3 separate regions of the Homo sapiens genome follow, and regions 2 and 3 are each linked to region 1. Evidence: promoter capture Hi-C in human tissues and cell types (Jung and others, 2019). All regions are on one chromosome and are shown on one strand. The core of a region is centred on a gene start or on the middle of the fragment in contact, and the rest is flanking DNA. Distances in the headings are between cores, read along the strand shown. Region 1 holds the start of STK38 (serine/threonine kinase 38). Region 2 overlaps CPNE5 (copine 5). Region 3 overlaps BRPF3-AS1 (BRPF3 antisense RNA 1).

Region 1 (3,267 bases), core at 249-2,748:
CTCTCTCAACAATATGGACTTTATTTCTTTGCGACTGACAATCCATTATCTTTCATTTGGACGATTCAACATTGGAGCTAAGATTATTGCTTAAGTCGCATGTCTAATCTCTCCCACTGAACTGTAAATCCTACTAAACTGTAATCTCTACCTACACTAGAAAGCAAGCACCATGTCTTATACTTGTTTTAATATTCTTCCCCCATTTCATGCACAGTGCTATGCACTTAGCACCTTAAGAAAGATTAACTAGGAAATATACTCATTTTTGATGTCCATTCCTAGGAGTTTATGTGTGATGGGGGATAGGGCTGGGACATGAAATGGTTTGCTATAGCGTTCTCTCCTCTTAGGAGGAAGCTGGTATCTAACGTTTAGGGTGGGGAGGAGAGCCTGTTATCGAGGTGGTGGTTGTTTTATGTTTAGGGAAACCAAATATATTGCCTGGCTAATTCAGAGGCAGGGTGAGCTCAAAGGGTGGAGACACTCAGGGTCTACTTCACTCCAACCCTCCTCGGTGCATTTCAAACAGAACAAGTTTCTCTCCGAGTCTTTTAGTCGTTTCAGAATGAACTGAGAGATCTGGTCTCTCTGCCGGCCGTTCTGCCCGCTTTCTGACACAGACTTTCCTCTAAGCCCTTACCGACTTTTTCCTCTGGCTGTTGCTTTTCCACTCTCTTCTTAAGAATTTTCCCTGCCTTTTCCTGTGATTTGAAGCTTATCTGAAGCCCAGTATCCTAAGACTAACGGAGAAAGGAGCCGACTCAAAGATACCACACCCCAAGGGGGGCTTTCGACATCTCTGCCTCAGACCACAGTTCACAGACCCCAGAAGAAGGAAAAGGAGATAAAAACCGGTGATGACCGAGATCCCTGAGGGACTGACTGGTGGCAGGGAGCAGACAAAGGTGGCAACATGGAAAGGAAAGCCTGGCTCCCGCTCCAACTGCAAAAGGAGAAAGATAAAGGATGGGGTGGAAAGGCTGGGACTGGAAAAATGTGGAGAGGGCCAACAAGGGGCATCTGGAGACGGGGGAAGAAGGGGGTTAAGGAGAGGGGCGGAGAGAGGCCAAGAGGCTGAGAGGTTAGGGCTTGAAAGAGGGCGCCGGCGAGCAGGAGAAAGCCCAAGAAGGAGTCGGAGGTTGGGGAAGGAGGAGATAAAGGAAAAACCCCGGGATGGAGTGAAGACGGCGGCAGCAAGCAACTCACCAGAGCCCAGGGAGAGGCAGGGCTGGGGACGGCGGAGAGCCGCAGACGCCCCTTCGGCCAGTAGTCTCGACTTGAAGGCTGGCGAAGCCCCGGCGGCGGCAGCCAACGAGCCAAAGACGGGAGGGGACGCGTGAGGGACTCTGAGACAGGGGGCAACAGGCGGTTACGGGTGAGGACAACAGGAAGCGTTCCAACTGCCGGAAAAGACGCGAGCGCTGAGGGGCCAAGGCAGCCCGGTCCCCCGCCGCGGAGACGGGCTGGCGCGGCAGCCCGGGGCCGAGACTACGCATGCGCGACTTCCCGGAGCGGCCGGGATTGCGGAACTGCGCTTGCGTGGCCCCGCCCTGCCCCTCCCTTCACCCCCTGCCTAGGGCTGGCTGGACCTGGGTGAGGCCAGATGTGTGAGTGTGAGGCGGTCTCGAAGTAGGCTGGGCTGAGGGGGAAGTTCCATTGTTTTCTTTTGTTTTACTTTTTACTTCGAAATAATTATGGACTCACAAGAAGTTGCAAAATTAATACATACAGGTTCCCTATACCATCACCCACCCAGCTTACCTCAACATTTTTCTTAAGATACAACATTCTCAAAGCCAGGAAATTGACATTCGCACAATACAATTAACTAAACCAATACAATTAACTAAACCAATACAATTAACTTCATTACAGACCACACTCGGATTTAACCTGTTGGGTATGCAGTCATGTGCGTGTGTGTGAGTGTGTGTGTAGTTCTATGAAATGTTGTCACCTGTATAGTTCCCACCCACCCCCCTACCCCGTGTAGAACAGGTCTGCTGGAGCCCTTGGCCCCCCTCCTCTTCCTTAAAGTAAGGACCTTACCTGGGATAAGGTGAGCTCTCATAGGTTTGGGAGGTTACCCAGCGGGCGACCCAGTGTGGACAGAAGAAGGTGCTTTTCAAGGCCACCCAACTCTTATTCTGTACTACTTTTGGGGGTAAAGAGGTCCCAAGTTTAATAGCCTTTGGGCACTTGTCGTTTCTTGAGAATGGAGCACAAAGCCCTCAACTACAAAGTGTCAAGCTCCTGGAAACTAAGATGAACGAGACATGGTCCCTGACTGCCTGCAAAGGGGCCATCTAGGGAGAGAAGGAAGCATGTGCTGCGAGTTATTCATTCATTTCATCTTCAAAGCCCAGTTTCCTTTTGTCTAGCCTCTTAACAAAAATCACTTCTCGCCAGGCGCGGTGGCTCCTGCCTGTAATTCCAGCACTTTGGGAGGTCCAGGTGGGAGGATAGCTTGAGCCTAGGAGTTTGAGACCAGTCTGGGCAACATAAGGAGAATCCACCTCTAAAAAAATTTTTGTAATTGGCCAGCATGGTGGCAAGTGCCTGTGGTCCCACCTACTGTGGAGGCTGAAGCAGGAGGATTGATTGAGTCCAGGAGTTCAGGGCTGCTATGAGCCATGATCATGACACTGCACCCCAGCCTGGGCAACGGAGGGAGACCCTGTCTCAATCAGTCACTACATACATATCAATCAATCACTTCGCCTTTCATTCTCTCTGCCCAGAGGCCCTTCTCCCCAAATGCCTGTTGTCAAAGTCCTACCCATTCTTAAGCTTTTAATAATAGTCCAAGATGTCTGCATAATGCTTTACAGTTTACAAACAACTTTCACTTATTTAATCTCACTTGGTCCTCACTTTGGCAGTGACACACGAGGTTTTGCAGATGAAGTAATTGATACTTAGAGAAGCTAAGTGACTTGTCTGAATTCCCACGGCTAGTAAGCCAAGTAGCCAAGAGGGGAACCCCATTTTCTGTCTGCAAATCCAATGTTCTTTCTCCTCTTCTCTTTCCTCCTTCCAAAGCCCAGCTCAAACCTTATCTTCCTCCTGGAACTTTCCCAGTTTCAGAAGAGGAATTTCACTCTCTCTTCTCTCTTATATATATGTTTTTTTTGGTGGGGGGAGGGGGGTTGTTTTTGTTTTGTTTTGAGACGGAGTGTCGCTCTATCACTAGGCTGGAGTGTAGTGGCACGATCTCGGCTCACTGCAACCTCCACCTCCCAGGCTCAAGTGATTCTCCTGCCT
Region 2 (2,841 bases), core at 288-2,787, 270 kb after region 1:
GAACGACCCTTTACCAATGAGCCTGGCTGCCAAGCTGCCAACAAAACACTCTCCACCACCTTGTCCCCACCCCCAGCCTTCTAGCCCCGGGTCTGACTGTAGAGGGTGGGGGGCCTGAGCAGTCCCCACCCTAAAGGAAGCCAAGCATCATGGAGGGGGCCCTGGGACTTGTCCCCCAGCTCACTCCAAAACATCGATAGCTCCTGCCAAATGGCATCACGATGTCTGAAATGATACTGTCAATGGTTCCTTCCTCCAGATAAAGCATTGGTTTCTTACTTAGGGCTTCTTATAAGAAGAGCCATTATTGAGCTTTTTCTGCAGGCCAGGCACTTTACACGAATTAGCTTATTTACTCCTCACAGTAGGCTTGTGAGCCTAAGTGCTTGGCCAAGATCCCCCACCTGGGCAGGTGGTGGGCCCATTTTTAAACTTGACTTTGGAGTGCACACTTTCAACAGCTCAGCCACAACTGTAGAGTGCACCTGGACACTAACACTGAAAAGCAAATAGATCTATCAGCCACCAGGGGACCTGGCCTAGAACTCAGGGTTTATTAGAAAAGCCAACTCCTTTCTTCAAATGAAATCTCAGGCTCATGTCTAATGTATTACACAGAAATAATGAACACCTCTGCTTGAAGGAGGAAAGGGAGGCAGGGGCTACACACATATTCACGGTGGATCCTGGAGCTGCCACCCTCAAATCCTGGGGATAGAAAAGCACACTTTGGGCTGGGCGCAGTGGCTCATGACTGTAATCCCAGCACTTTGGGAGGCCGAGGTGGGCGGATCTCCTGAGCTCAGGAATTTGAGACCAGCCTGGCCAACATGGTGAAACCCCATCTCTACGAAAAATACAAAAATTAGCTGGGGGTGGTGGCATATGCCTGTAATCCTAGTTACTCGGGAGGCTGAGGCAGGAGAATTGCTTGGACCCAGGAGGTGGAGGTTGCAGTGAGCCGAGATTGTGTCACCACACTCCAGCCTGGGCGACAGAGTGAGACTCCGTCTCAAAAACAAACAAACAAGAAAAGCCCACTTTGAAAGTCAGTGGCCTGGGCAGAGGAGAAGACCAGGGACTCCGACTCGGAAAACCACATTCACATCCCAGCTCTGCCACTTCCTAGCTGTGTTGCTGGGCAAAGCCAGGATCCCTCTGAGCTCTGCTTCCTCATCTGGGTGTGGTGAGGGCCAAGGGAGATAATGGGGTGCTGCTGATGTGGAGACTGTACAGGGTAGAAGGCATATCAGTCACCCTCTTATTTAAGGAGGGGAAGGAAAGGGATAGAGCCTCTTTACAGCTTGCCTGATGGTACTGTTTAATAATAAAAAGAATATTTACAGGTCCTGAGCACAGGCAGGCACTGCTAAGTGATTCTGCCATGTGGTCCCTACCACAGTCCACTAAGCAGGCATTGGGAACCCATTTTATTGATGAAAAAAACTAAGGCTCAGAGAGAGGTTAAGGAAAGTGGCAAAGTCAGGATTCAAAGGGACATCCCAGACAGCACCTCACTGTGTCAAAGCAGGTTTTAAAGCCCTGACCCTAAGACTGTGAGTAGGTGGCCATAGACCCATCTAGTCCCTAAAGTAAAGCTTTGGTCCTGGACTGCCTAACCCTGATCACGGGGAGTCAGAGCCCTGAAAATTCAGCTGCATGACAAGAGCAAAGGCCACTAAAGGCTTTCCAAGTGACCTAAGGCTCAGGAGGGACCTCTCTTTGCAGAGGCAGACTTCTCTGCAAAAAGGAGAGAGTCCAGAAAGCCTACCCCAAGCTTGCCTTGGAGTCCACCTCTTAGAGAGGCCTGCCTTCCGCTTTGTGCCTTAGCAATGCTGATGGTCCACTCATTCCTTTGTATCTTTAGATAATGGTCTATGTGGAATGACCAAGGCCAGGTCACCAGGGATCCTAAATTGGGCTCAAGGCCAGGCAGGCAGAGGGTTATTTCTTTTCAGATTTAAACTCTTGGCATTGAACGAACTGGATCCCCTGTGTTCATGCCCACCACAGTCTTATTCCAAAACCTCCACAAGACTGCAAATTATCTTCCTGCTTCTGCCCTTTCCCCTGCAGTCCACTCTGCACACAGTGGCCAGGGCTGTCTTTCTGAAACATAAACCAGGTTGCATCACTCCCCTGCTTAAAACCCTTAAATAGGCCAGGTGTGGTGGCCCACGCCTGTAATCCCAGCATTTTGGGAGGTTTAGGAGGGAGGATCACCTGAGGTCAGGAGTTCAAGACCAGCCTGCTCAACATGGTGAAACTCTGCCTCTACTAAAAATACAAAAATTAGCCAGGCATGGTGGCGCATGCCTGTAGTCCCAGCTACTTGGGAGGGTGAGGCAGGAGAATCACTTGAACCCGGGAGGCAGAGGTTTCAGTGAGCTGAGATCGAGCCATTGCACTCCAGCCTGGGCAATGGAGCAAGACTCCATCTCAAACAAAACAAAATAAAACCCTCAAGTAGCTTAGCATCACACTTAGATCAGTATCAGAACTCTTTATATGGCCTCTGAAGCCCTACAGGATCTGAACCTGATGACCTCTGTGACCGTATTGTCCACTTTCTTAATTGTTCACACCACTCAAACTACACCAGCCTTCTTTTTGTCCTTGAAATACAGTAAGCTTGTTCCCACCTCAGGGCCTTTGCACTTGCTGTTCCCTCCACCTGCAACACCCTGCCCCCCAGAATGATGCATGGCACCACTCAAGACTCAGCTCCAGTGCCACCAAGTTTGGCTTGGTTCACAGGATCTCCAAGGGCGGCCTCTCCCACTGTGATGGAGTGCCCAGGTCAATGGTAGATTGCGGTTAATATTTCCAGGCATTTTCATA
Region 3 (2,830 bases), core at 96-2,595, 350 kb before region 1:
GTTCCAAAAATCATCAGGGTCTCCTGCCCCTTCATGTCTAGCTCCCTACCCAACCAACAGTCTCCATGCTCTGACTTTACCTTACCAGCCTTCTCTCTCATATCCCTCATTTTTGGGTCAATGGGTAACCCACTGTTTCCTGAAACAATCTTATGGCATTCCATGTGTTAAAGAAAAGACAGCAGACCCCAAATGGAGTCATTCATGCTGAGAGGTTCCATGACACCAAACCAAAACCTGTATTTTACTGTAAGATCTGACTCTTCAAGAAATCAGGAGAGAGATGATAGTCAAATCCCATTAAACCAACAAGATTTCATTTACATTCCTATAAAGAAAAATAATCTTGAAAAGACCAATCTGCTATTTGCTCATTGTTCCTGATTTATTTCACTTCTTTCTGCCTATAAAACTCACCTACTTGTTTAGCTCATAGGAACTCCTTTCTATTTTGTAGACTGGATGTTGCCCAGTTCATAAACAGCTAATAAAGCCAATTGGATCTTTGGGACTCATTTGTTGAAATTTTATTCTTTGATACGTTCTTCCTCTTTGCTCATGCGGGTGGCTCAGCCTGGACCACACTCCCTCTACCATCTTTCTAGCTGACACACCTACCTGAGAGCTTTCAGGTAGAGCTCAGATAGCACTTTCTTCACAGAGCCTTCCCTCTTCTCCTAAACAGACGAGCTCACTCCCTCCTCCAAACTTTGGCACTTCGTTTGCATCTCTCTTGAAGTGCTTATATTGTAGCACGTTCCAGTTATAAATACCCTTGCTTTATACTGTGATTAGAATCTAAATGCCTTCAAGTCTGCAAGCATACTCTTTTCACCTTTGTGGCCTTTACAGCCATAAAATAGAACCTTACCAGCAGCTCACAAATAGTAATTGAATAAATATGTATTTCAGTGTGACCAAAAGAGGTTCCAGAGAACTTGAGCTGATTTCATCATTTCTTCAATCCTCAGGTTCCCACCTCCAATAGGAGCTCCCGAGCAACCCTTTGCCACCTCTTAATTTGCAATGATTGTACCAAACTGTGAGAACCTACAAAGTTTGAACTTAGATTCTTCTTCAATCTTCTCCTTTGTTCTTATGTCCAATCAGACAAAACAGTTGCTTTGTCATCTGATTTCTGATTTGACCTTTCCTTTTCCTCTTTCTCTAACACATTTTCCATCATTCTGCTTAATGCCTTTTTATTTTCATAATGCCTAATTACCTATAGTAAACTCTTCCAGGTTTACCGGATCTCCTGTTCTACTTTCTCCAATACATAAAGAGGATAACAGTAACATTTTATAGAGTTAGTAAGTTGATAAATAAGATATGGTGTGCATATTGGACCTAGTTTGTACATGTACCTACTACCCCATTGTACAATCTTCTCCTGCTCATGTCCTCTGGTTTTAGGAGTTGATACATGACAAGCAGCATGTCCCTCTGGCCACAGTTATTGGCTCAGGATGGCTGAGAAATTGCAAGATACAGTATGCTGATGACATAATTCGAGTCCTTTGACTCGATCTTGTCTATAGCTAGATGCACCCCTGGACTTTCTGGTTATGAGAGTTTATTTCCTTTATTAAACTCACTTAAGTTGGTTTTCTGCTAACTGCAACAAAGATCTTTAATAAATGGAGTATATAAAGCACTAAGCACAGTACCTTGTACATAAGTGTTAGGTATTATTTTTATTATCCCTGTCCCCTTGCCATACCTCCTACCCAATTCAATCTTTTTCTTATCATCTGCCCATACATACCAGCTAGGATAATTTCCGCATTATTCCCTGCATATTTTCCCTTTGCCTGGACTGTCCTGTCACCAACCCAATGTCACTTTACACTCTTTTCACCAGTTCACATCCATCATGATTTAGAACTTGGCTTAAAGAAGTCTCCCATTCTCCAAGAAGCCTTCTTTGAATAATGGTGGCTCCATACTCTTCACTGCCTTATCTATTTTTTCTTGTATGTGTTTTCTACTTATTTCTACCATTCTGGATTGCACACTACTCAAGGCAAGAAAAAATATATTCTATCTATACTTATGATCATTAGTCCCTTTCTAGGTTGAGATTTTGTCATTATTTTCCAAAGAACTTGTGCAGTATTAGACACACTCTAAGTGGTCAATGAATACGTTTTAGAAATACATAAATGGAATTAAATCTAGAGAGTGTGGTATGTTACTCTATTTAAGACCTGTTGTTAACCTAGCTAAACTTTTCCCATTTTCCAAGCAAACTTTACATTCTTAAACCATTTTAATTAGTGTAAAAGTATCGGCCGGGCGCGGTGGCTCACGCCTGTAATCCCAGCACTTTGGGAGGCCGAGGCGGGCGGATCACGAGGTCAGGAGATCGAGACCATCCCGGCTAAAACGGTGAAACCCCGTCTCTACTAAAAATACAAAAAATTAGCTGGGCGTAGTGGCGGGCGCCTGTAGTCCCAGCTACTTGGGAGGCTGAGGCAGGAGAATGGCTTGAACCCGGGAGGCGGAGCTTGCAGTGAGCCGAGATCCCGCCACTGCACTCCAGCCTGGGCGACAGAGCAAGACTCCGTCTCAAAAAAAAAAAAAAAAAAAAAAAAAGTATCACAATGATTCCAACCTCAAACATTCCTCCCAACTGTGGTTTCAGAATTCTTTTAGTCAAGTATCTAAGGAAGGAATATTCTATTAAAAATAATTTAACAATCAATCAAGGCCTATTTTTTTCCTTATCATCCACGTTATTAATCCAGTGGGTACTGCGTCTGACCCCTGAGAGGTTTCTTGGCCTGATAAACTAATGACAATAGTGAAGCATTAACAAAGATATCCT

Evidence for each region. The method cuts DNA at HindIII sites, captures the fragments that hold promoters and counts their contacts. A contact is called where the count stands out against the background at its distance.
Region 2: a contact is called between a fragment that was not itself captured here and the fragment with the promoter of STK38 in region 1, in 1 of the 25 tissues and cell types used here (mesenchymal stem cells).
Region 3: a fragment that was not itself captured here is called in contact with the fragment with the promoter of STK38 in region 1 in 1 of the 25 tissues and cell types used here (IMR-90 fibroblasts).

Annotation. Positions count from the first base shown.
Region 1 is chr6:36,545,981-36,549,247 of GRCh38, forward strand. It overlaps STK38 (serine/threonine kinase 38), which reads right to left and starts at 1,499. Exons shown (of 14, transcript NM_007271.4): 1 at 1,210-1,499. RefSeq lists an enhancer at 1,034-1,557 and a silencer at 1,305-1,644. The HindIII fragment of the contact is 5,084 bases long and covers 1-3,267 here.
Region 2 is chr6:36,811,090-36,813,930 of GRCh38, forward strand. All of the region lies in intron 3 of CPNE5 (copine 5), which reads right to left. Among named protein-coding and RNA genes, the nearest start is that of CPNE5, 27 kb to the right of the region's middle. RefSeq lists a silencer at 1-103. The HindIII fragment of the contact is 3,236 bases long and covers 1-2,841 here.
Region 3 is chr6:36,191,483-36,194,312 of GRCh38, forward strand. All of the region lies in intron 1 of BRPF3-AS1 (BRPF3 antisense RNA 1), which reads right to left. Among named protein-coding and RNA genes, the nearest start is that of BRPF3, 3.8 kb to the right of the region's middle. The HindIII fragment of the contact is 4,910 bases long and covers 1-2,830 here.